2 separate regions of the Homo sapiens genome follow, and region 1 is linked to region 2. The links are contacts of gene promoters, found by promoter capture Hi-C in blood cells and fetal thymus (Javierre and others, 2016). All regions are on one chromosome and are shown on one strand. The core of a region is centred on a gene start or on the middle of the fragment in contact, and the rest is flanking DNA. Distances in the headings are between cores, read along the strand shown. Region 1 holds the start of TMEM258 (transmembrane protein 258). Region 2 holds the start of LINC02733 (long intergenic non-protein coding RNA 2733).

The links. The method cuts DNA at HindIII sites, captures the fragments that hold promoters and counts their contacts. A CHiCAGO score of 5 or more calls a contact.
Region 1: the fragment with the promoter of TMEM258 here is called in contact with a fragment that was not itself captured in region 2 in 17 of 17 cell types (neutrophils, naive CD4 T cells, total B cells and 14 more); the score reaches 14.7 in neutrophils.

The regions. Positions count from the first base shown.
Region 1 is chr11:61,790,957-61,796,148 of GRCh38, forward strand. TMEM258 (transmembrane protein 258) reads right to left here and starts at 1,643. Exons shown (of 4, transcript NM_014206.4): 1 at 1,600-1,643. The coding sequence starts at 1,602. FEN1 (flap structure-specific endonuclease 1) reads left to right here and starts at 1,955. Exons shown (of 2, transcript NM_004111.6): 1 at 1,955-2,072; 2 at 4,385-5,192. The coding sequence starts at 4,406. It overlaps MIR611 (microRNA 611), which reads right to left and starts at 1,605; the gene lies at 1,539-1,605. RefSeq lists enhancers at 891-1,868, 1,661-1,955, 1,869-2,844, 4,390-4,890. The HindIII fragment of the contact is 6,270 bases long and covers 1-2,035 here.
Region 2 is chr11:62,081,148-62,086,302 of GRCh38, forward strand. It overlaps LINC02733 (long intergenic non-protein coding RNA 2733), which reads right to left and starts at 1,175. Exons shown (of 3, transcript NR_183616.1): 1 at 467-1,175. The HindIII fragment of the contact is 2,128 bases long and covers 556-2,683 here.

The sequences.
Region 1 (5,192 bases), core at 393-2,892, 290 kb before region 2:
GAGTCTCATTTTTTGGACGGCGTCTCACTCTGTCGCCCGGGCTGGAGGGCAGTGGCACGATCTCGGCTCACTGCAACCTCTGCCTCCCGGGTTCTAGAGATTCTCATACCTCAGCCTCTCGAGTAGCTGGGACTATAGGATTACAGGTGCGCACCACCACATCTAATTTTTGTATTTTTAGTAGAGATGGGGTTTTGCCATGCTGGCCAGGATGGTCTTGAATTCCTGACCTCAGGTGATCTGCCTGCCTCGGCCTCCCAAAGTACTGAGATTACAGGTGTGAGTTGCCGCGCCCAGGCTCAATTTTTTTTTTTTTCCAGACAGTCTTGCTCTATCGCCCAGGCTGGAGTGCCTGGAGTGCAGTGGTGCCAACTCGGCTCACTGCAAGCTCCGCCTTCTGGGTTCAAGTGATTATCCTGCCTCAGCCTCCCGAGCAGCTGGGATTACAGGCGTGAACCACCATGCCCGGCTAATTTTTTGTATTTTTAGGAGAGACAGGGTTTCACCTTGCTGGCCAGGCTGGTCTTGAACTTCTGACCTCCTGATCCGCTCGCCTCAGCCTCCCAAAGTGCTGGGATTACAGGAGTGAACCACCGCGCCTGGCCCTCAATTTCTAATTCAGTATTTTCCTCACTACCTATGCTATTATGGAATCTTGTGAGCTATGGTCAAGACATTCAAGTTCTGGTTCTGAGTAATCTGAGTCTGAGTAAAGCGACTGTAATATCTATTTCACAGAACTGAAAAATAAGAAAGATGATGAATCAAAGCATCTAGTGCCTAGCAGGGAGTATTTTGCTCAACAGGTATTTGCTTCCTTCCTAAGGCTGTAGGGAAGATGATGAGATAATGTCTTTTATGAAAGAGGGCTGTAAACGTAAAGATCTGTACAAATGTTAACTTCATTGTCACCGGTCAGCCAATGCTTCTAAAATCCAGAACATAACAACTCTAGAGAAGTAAACTGCCCCCATTGTTCTGAGACACTGGAATTCAATTCAGTAAACAATCACGGCCCCCTTCCCCCAAAATGATAAAGACAATCACTGCCATTTATTGAGCTTCCAATTACGGGCCCTCTGTTTGGCACTGAGAATACAAAGATGAATAGACATCATCCCAGAGCTAGATGCGCGTCAGACGGTGGTCACTAGGAGGCGTGGCCGAAAACAAAGAAGTCCATGGAACGTGGCCAGAGATCTGTACAGAGGCTGTGGGCGCTCCTAGGAAAGTCTGGCCAAGTGCCTGAGAGTTGGAAGTGCTTCACCAATAAACATTTGCCCAGGGCATTGTAGGATGGGCACGGGTTCGGCAGAAGAACTTTCCAAATAAAGATAACACACCACCGATAACAGAGATATACAAACTGGAAGGTATTCAAAATTCGCCCCACGCCTCTCGCCCTTAGAAATCGCGAGCTGAGAAACCTAAGGAGTTCATGGCAAGGGGCTTCCCCCTTCCCCACCCTTCAGCCCAAGCCGGAGGTTCCAGGAGCGTCTAGCCCTCTGGATCTCCGGCGTCTGAGGAGATAAGCGCGGTGTGGGTCAGACCCCGAGGGGTCCTCGCATCTCCGTCTGGAACTCCCCTCAACGCTCTCACCATTTTGCCCCGCGAAGGCTAATCCGCCGCTCCGCCACCGGAAGAACACGTCGGCAGGAGCAGGCGCCTAGCACAACCGGAAAAGGAAGTGCCTCCGGCGCAAGTGGCATTGAGGGACTTGTAGTCCTGCGATTTCGGGTGTAGAGGGAGCAGGGGCCTGCGGGGACCTGGTGTGGGTGGAGTGGGGACAAGCGGTGGAGAAGGGTACGCCAGGGTCGCTGAGAGACTCTGTTCTCCCTGGAGGGACTGGTTGCCATGAGAGCAGCCGTCTGAGGGGACGCAGCCTGCACTACGCGCCCCAAGAGGCTGTGCGTGGCGAGCAGGTCACGTGACGGGAGCGCGGGCTTTGGAAGGCGGCTGAACGTCAGGCCACCCGCCGCTAAGCTGAGAAGGGAGAGCGAGCTTAGGACCGCCTGCCCGGGGCAACCCCGAACCAAGCTTTAGCCGCCGAGGCCGCGTGTCCCAAAGGCCAGGTGAGACCCCATGGGAAGCGCCTCCGGGAGCGACGGGGTCCGCTTGGCGCTGGGGGCCGTGGGGAGCCGGGGTCTGGAGTGCGCGGGATTCGCAGTCAAGAGGTCCCGCCACTTTTCCCCCTGTGAGCCTTGGGCCAGTCGCGTAAGCTCCGAGCCTCTCTTTCCTCCATTGTAGAAAAGCGGTAATAAGTTCCACCTTATGGGGTCGTGTTGTATTTTTCCTAAGACCTTGGACGAGAAACATTTCTGACACTTGAGTTGTTTAGGCCCCTTTCCTGCCTACCTGTCTGTGGGACGCCGTGAGGGGATCAAGGGCTACATGGTCTGGTCCTCAGTCCACACTCCAGCAGCGCGGCCGGCTTGAGGCAAGAGCCGAAGGGTTGAACAGGCCTGGAGAGGGGACATTAGAGGTTTCTGTCTGTTGTCTCAGTTAACCCTGGCAGCAGCCCTGAGAGACAGGCATGGTAATCGTTCTTCTTCTGTAGACGAGAAAATAAACCTCAGTGGCTTGGTAATGTCACACGGATGGTAAATGCCGCGCCTAGATTCAAGGCCAGAGCTTTTGCCGCTGCAGTTCACAGGGGAATTATTCATATTAATCAAATGAATAATTCATTGTCAATTAATTATTAATTGATTAATAATCCAGGGATGGACCTGGAAGGACGCGTGAGAGGATGGCGAGAGGAGGGCACAGCTAAGGAAAAGTGGGAAAAGGCGGGCCTTATTCCAGCTTTCTGTTGAGATCCCAGAATGTAGGGTTAGGTTGGGAACCAGAACATGAAAGATCGTGATGCCATGCTGAAGTGTTTGGACTGAATTAGAAGGAAGAATTGAACAGTCATTGATGCTCTAGAAAGAACCCTGTGAAGAAAGAGTGGGAACAATGAAAAGGCCTGATGGAGTCTTTCGTTTCTTCTTTCTCTTTTCTTTTGTCTTCTTTTCTTTTCTTGACAGGGTCTTGCTCTGTTGCCCAGGCTGGAGTGTGGTGGCACAATCATAGCTCACTGTAGCCTGGAACTCCTGGGCTCATGTGATCCTCCCACCACGGCCTCCCAAAGTGCTGGGATTACTGCCCAGAGCCTCTGTGCCTGGCCCCAGTAGAATATTTCTTGGAGTATTGGACACATACCAACAGTGGGCACAAGATGAGTTTTTTATTTTTTTGAGACGGAGTCTCACTCTCTTGCTAGGCTGGAGTGCAGCGGCACAATCTCGGCTCACTGCATTCTCTGCCTCCTGGGTTCAAGCGATTCTCCTGCCTCAGCCTCCCGAGTAGCTGGGATTACAGGTGCACACCACCACACCCAGCTAATTTTTTTTTTTTTTGTATTTTTAGTAGAGACAGGGTTTCACCGTGTTGGCCAGGATGGCAAGATGATTTTAAATTGCACCCCCTAAAAATCCTTTTTAATAGTTATACATTTAATACATATTAAAATATAACTAATAGAACACAAATATTATTGCTTATGAGTTTTCCAGTTTAGTTTTTTAAAAAAAATTCTAAGTGAATGAAAGTACGGGTTTTAGTTGGAAGTAGCAAAAATCGTGAGGGTGATTTGGGAAACACTGCTATCTGGGAAACACTGAACTCTGAAGTGCAATACTCTTTTGAGCCCAGTGACTACAGCATGCCAGACCCCTAAATCAGGACCTGGGGAGGAGCCATGGAGTTAACATTTCAGACTGAGTGGTGGCGAGAAAACGCAAAGGGAAAGACTTGAAACTCTAGCAACATTATAATAAAAGTAGAAACTCTTATGTGCTGAGGCGATGATGAAGAGAGTTTAGAGAAGCTTGTGAGAAAGCCACATCACCTCCATTCAGATATGTTTGCAATCCTTTTTCAAGGCTGCCTTATTAGTCAGGGTTCTCCAGAGACTCAAAACAAATCAGATCTGTTTGTTTAGCTGGTGTATTTGCCTGTCTTTCAGGTCTGCCATTATGGTCCCTGGACTCCTCAAGCCAGGCCAAGCATCCTGGCCTTCTGTGGTCCTTGATGGAGACCTATGTTGCAGGTTTTTTTTGTGTAATAAATAATGCTGCTACCTTAGAATATCAACAGTATCTTATTTCTCTAAGCACGTGGTTCAATTTCTGGTACTCGTTGAGCCTTACTATTGAGTAAATTCTCCTGCTAGACTGAGTTTTTTGAGAATGGGGACCTTGTTCATCTTTTTATCTTTAGCAGTGCTGACATGGTGTCCTTTTTGTTGTGTGGAATTTAGTTGAAGGCATGAAGTTGGTGAGATAACACCAGTTATAACCTTTCTCCTTTCCTCCGTCTCTGACTTGCCTTTCTTTTTTAGTCATCCCTCCTCTGTGTTGCCATGGGAATTCAAGGCCTGGCCAAACTAATTGCTGATGTGGCCCCCAGTGCCATCCGGGAGAATGACATCAAGAGCTACTTTGGCCGTAAGGTGGCCATTGATGCCTCTATGAGCATTTATCAGTTCCTGATTGCTGTTCGCCAGGGTGGGGATGTGCTGCAGAATGAGGAGGGTGAGACCACCAGCCACCTGATGGGCATGTTCTACCGCACCATTCGCATGATGGAGAACGGCATCAAGCCCGTGTATGTCTTTGATGGCAAGCCGCCACAGCTCAAGTCAGGCGAGCTGGCCAAACGCAGTGAGCGGCGGGCTGAGGCAGAGAAGCAGCTGCAGCAGGCTCAGGCTGCTGGGGCCGAGCAGGAGGTGGAAAAATTCACTAAGCGGCTGGTGAAGGTCACTAAGCAGCACAATGATGAGTGCAAACATCTGCTGAGCCTCATGGGCATCCCTTATCTTGATGCACCCAGTGAGGCAGAGGCCAGCTGTGCTGCCCTGGTGAAGGCTGGCAAAGTCTATGCTGCGGCTACCGAGGACATGGACTGCCTCACCTTCGGCAGCCCTGTGCTAATGCGACACCTGACTGCCAGTGAAGCCAAAAAGCTGCCAATCCAGGAATTCCACCTGAGCCGGATTCTGCAGGAGCTGGGCCTGAACCAGGAACAGTTTGTGGATCTGTGCATCCTGCTAGGCAGTGACTACTGTGAGAGTATCCGGGGTATTGGGCCCAAGCGGGCTGTGGACCTCATCCAGAAGCACAAGAGCATCGAGGAGATCGTGCGGCGAC
Region 2 (5,155 bases), core at 370-2,869:
ATAACCTCAAACTCCTGGACTCAAGCGATTCTCCCACCTCAGCCTCCCCAGTAGCTAGGACTGTAGGCACATACCACCACACCTGACTAATTTTTTAATTTTTTGTAGAGGAGGGAGTCTCACTATGTTACCCAGGCTGGTCTGGAACTCCTGGTCTCAATCGGTCCTCCCGCTTTGGCCTCCCTAAGTGCTGGGATTGCAGGCGTGAGCCACTGCGCCTCTTCAGAACTAGGTGTAATTTAATTTTCTTCTTTATATTTTCTTAGATTTTCTAATTTTTATTTTCAAATTAACATTTATTAATTTGTAGCTAGAAAGGAAAACTTCTACAGATTGTAGAGACCAGGTTTTGCCATGTAGCCCAGGCTAGTCTTGCACTTCTGAGCTCAAGCCATCTGCTCACCTGTGCCTGTGGCTGCCAGCTCTGCAAAACCCTTCCTGAGATCAAGAAGGGGAAGCAACTTACCCAGGTTCACTCAGGCAGGTTTTGTGAATCCAAAACCATTGCTCTTTTATAGCTTCCTGTTTCTCCACTTGGGATTTCTTCCAGCTGAAAGCTTACTCATTATATGAAGGCTCAGAGCTCCCAGGTCAATGTCATCTTCTTCATGGAGCTGTGCCTGGAGATGACGCCCCCTTTCTCTGCTCCATTAAACCCGGTGTCTTTCCTGCTGTGTGTGCCAGCGGCTGTGTTGTGGTTGTGGGTGTGCTTGCTTTCGAGTCTTCGTTCTGCTATAAGCCCCTTGGAAGTAAGGACCACACCTTAGGTATTTCCATCTCTCCTTATGCAGCATCCAGGTGCATCACTCACGTGCAGGAGGGATTGGCTGAACACAGAGGCAGGTTAACTCAAGAATAAACTTTATTATTTGCTTTTAGGTGCTGTAGTGTGACGTGAAGCAGGTAGCTCATAATTGTGAAGATAAACTTGTGGAGTAGGTGGGTTTTGAGGTCCAGTAGGAAGATAGGCCCCACACAATGGTAGTTTGATTATTAATCAGCGTGGAGCAGGTGAATCAGCTGTTGCATTCCCCGGGAAGAACGCGGGCTCGGCCGGCCTGTGCTGGACTCTGGCGCCCCCAAATGGTCACGTGGGTTTATTACACATCGGAAGTAAACAGCTTTTACTGATGATGAAGTAGTGACTGTCTTGGTAGCTCTCTAGAAGCTCATTCGCCTTCTCTTTAAAGTTACACTTCACAGAGGCAGGATAATCCATCCGGTCAAGGAGAAAGGAAAATCGGATTAGGGCTTCCAATAAACCTGTAATATTTTAGGTGTACCGCTGAGTCATAAATATCAGCTAAGTCTGTTGTATCATCACCTGTACTTCTTTTTGCGCATCTTAAAATACCATTTAAAATAACGAAAAAAATCTACAACTTAGCTCTAGAGTATCATGCCTCCAAAAGACACTGGGTTTAATTTTTAGATGTTTTCCCTTTTTCGTTGGAGGTAAAAATAAAATTCAGGATTATGTTTTTCAGACCTATGTTTGTTTTCATACTTGTAAAACCTACATATGTATCCATAAACACACAGAGTATTGATTTGTGTTTCAATTTTAAAAAATTGATGTCACACTGTACCATTCTGAAGGTCTTTTTTGTTTGTTTGTTTGTTTTTTGAGATGGAGTCTCGCTCTGTTACCCAGGCTGGCGTGCAGTGGCGTGATCTTGGCTTACCGCAACCTCTGCCTCCCAGGTTCAAGCGATTCTCCTTCCTCAGCCTCCTGAGTAGCTGGGACTACAGGTGCGTGCCACCACATCTGGCGAATTTTTGTATTTTTAGTAGAAATGGGGTTTCACCATGTTGGCCCTGGCTGGTCTTGAACTCCCAACCTCAAGTAATCTGCCCACCTTGGCCTCCCAAAGTTCTGAGATGATAGGCACGAGCCACCACACCTGGCCATATCTTGCTTTTATTGATCAACATTGTGTTTAAGAATTATTCATGTTGGTACATATATTTCTAGTTGATTCACGTTTACCGCTGAAAAATTCCTCGTATAACTATGCACGTATATATATGTGTGTGTGTGTGTGTGTATCTATATATATATATATATATTTTTTTTTTTTTTTGAGACACAGGTTGTACTGTTGCCCAGGCTGGAATGCAATGGCACAATCTCTGCTCACTGCAACCTCCACCTCCCAGGTTCAAGCGATTCTCCTGCCTCAGCCTCCCGAGTAGCTGGGATTACAGGTGCCTGCCACCATGCCTGGCTAATTTTTTGTATTTTTACTAGAGATGGGGTTTCGCCATCTCTCACTTAACTAAGGTGATCTGCCCGTCGAAGTGCTGGGATTACAGGGGTGAGCCACTGCGCCTGGACTTTTTTTTTTAAATTCATTAAAATAATAGAAAAATAGAGACAGGGTCTTTGTGTTGCCCAGGCTGGTCTCAAATAGCTGAGCTCAAGCAGTCCTCCAGCCTTGGCCTCCCAAAGTGCTGGGATTACAGGTGTGAGCCACTGTGCCTGGTCTTTATGATATCTTTTTGTATTCCAAAGTCATAAGATAGTCATTTAATTTTGAAAATTATTTTAAAAATTTGCTTTTTACATTTAGATGCTTAAATCCCCTTGATTTTATTTATGTAGTTGGTGCAAGGTGAATGCTTCTTTATCTGTATGGGTGACTTTCTCTTGGGCAGGGTACACATTTAAAAGCTCCGAGGAAGCTTTTAAAAGACCATTTCTGGGCCTCATCACAGAACAGATGAAATCAAAATTTCTGAGTGTGGACCTGAGACATCAGATTTAAAAAATAAAAACAAAACTCTCCCAGGCGTTTTTTAACATGGAGCCAGGGCTGAGAATCTTTGCTTTAAGGTCAGACCAAGAGTAGAGTTGCTGGGGTGTGTATTATTCGCATTGTCAGCTATACTGGATGTTGCTGGTGCTCTCTAAAGTGATTAAACTAGGCCGGGCGCAGTGGCTCACGCCTGTAATGCCTGCACTTTGGGAGGCCAAGATAAGCAGATCACCTGGGGTCTGGAGTTTGAGACCAGCCTGGCCAACATGGTGAAACCCCGTCTCTACTAAAAATACAAAAATTAGCCAGGCGTGGTGGCAGGCGCCTGTAATCCCAGTTACTTGGGAGGCTGAGGCACGAGAATTGCTTGAACTTGGGAGGCAGAGGTTGCAGTGAGTAGAGATTGCACTGTTGCACTCCAGCCTGGGCAACAAAGCGAGACTCTGTCTAAAATAAATAAATAAATAAATAAATAAAATAAAGTGATTAAACTATTTATGGTCCTCAAGTAGGAGAATTTCAATTGCTTCACACTTTTGAAAATACATGTTGTGATATTTATATAAAACCAAGAACCATGGATGAAAAAACATATATGTGTGTCTCATATATGTATGCATTTCATATACATATGTGTTATAAACATATATATGTCTTTCATATATATATATATAAAATGTTTTCACCCATGATTCTTGGCTTATAACTCCCATAGCTCTTGTTATTACAGTTTCTGTTATAATGTTAGGGCACTTTAGTTCTCACAAGCAGGCTTCAGGAAACAGAATCTCTCTCTCTCTCTCTGACCTTCTCCTGCCCACCTTTTACCTGCTCCTTTTTTCTCCCCACCTTTTACCTGCTTCTTTTCCTATCTTTCTGTCTAGGAGCTGGTCATGAGGAAATTCTCTGGCCTACTTTGATTGTAGGTCACAATACCCTCATTTCAGACAGGTCCTGCCCTATTCCCTGGAAGGAATGCTGCACAGAGAGACCAAGAAGAATCTGATCAGATGGGCCTTGTTGGGTTTCCCCATTCAGCCTGTTAGTGTTAGATCGTACCCAATCATATTTATTTTATTTATTTATTTATTTATTTATTTATTTATTTATTTATTTTTTGAGATGGAGTCTCACTCTGTCACCTAGGCTGGAGTGCAGTGACGTGATCTCGGCTCACTGCAACCTCCGCCTCCCGGGTTCAAGCAATTCTCCTGCCTCAGCCTCCCAGGTAGCTGGGATTACAGGCTCCCACTACCATGCCTGGCTAATTTTTGTATTTTTAGTAGAGACGGGGTTTCACCATATTGGCCAGGCTGATCTCGAACTCCTGACCTCGTGATCCGCCCGCCTTGGCCTCGCAAAGTGTTGGGATTACAGGCGTGAGCCATCATGCCTGGCAATAAATTATTTCTTCAAATATTGTGGGGATACAACTGCAGAGATCTCAGATTTCAACGTGTTTTTGTCCAATGCTTATACCATTCAGGTTATAACCATTTCAGAAAAGGTCTGTATAATTCTGGCAATTCATGTATGGCCTTGTAGTGTTAGGTTTTTAGGTGTATATGTGGGATATGTGTGGTTTAGGAAAAAAGCCTTGCAACTTTACAAAGCACTGGACATACACTAGCTAGCCTTCTCTTCACTCCTGTCATTACTGATCTGTTTTCCCCATTTTAGTAAATGGTCAAGATTTACCCCTAGAGAAAGAGTCAGCTTGTGGCCAAATTCATGTTTGATAGATCTTCTCAGCTCTAAAACTGAAAGGGAGAAACTTCAGACAGCAGAAAGAGAAAACAAACAAGCAGGGTGGGTGAAATAATTTCCTATGGTTGTTGAAACAAATTACCACAAATTTCGTGGTTTAAAACAACACAAGGCTGGGCTCAGTGGTGCATGCCTGTAATCCCAGCACTTTGGGGGGCCGAGGTGAGAAAATTGCTTGAGCTCAGGAGTTTGAGACCAGCCTGGCAACACAGTGAGACCTTGTCTCTAAAAAATAAAGAAAGAAAGAAGAAAAAGAAAAAAATTCCAAAAACCAAAACCACCCCACACATTTATTATCTTATAGTTCTGGGGTCAGAGGTCCAAAATGGGTCTTTATGAGCTAAAAACCAAGGTGTTATCAGGCCTGCATCCCTTCTTTTTATTTTATTTAATTCTTTTTTTTTTTTTTGGTAGGGATGCAGTCTCACTCTAATGCCCAGGCTGGTCTTGAATTCCTGGGCTCAAGCAATTCACCCATCTCGGCCTCCCAAAGTGCTGGGATTGTAGGCATGAGGAACTGTGCCTGGCCTTACTTTTGGGTTTTTGAGGAAAAGTGTGGTTTAGACACTTGGAAATGTCTTTGTCGAAAAAAAATGTTTTTTAAGTGTACAGTAAAAGCATCACATGGT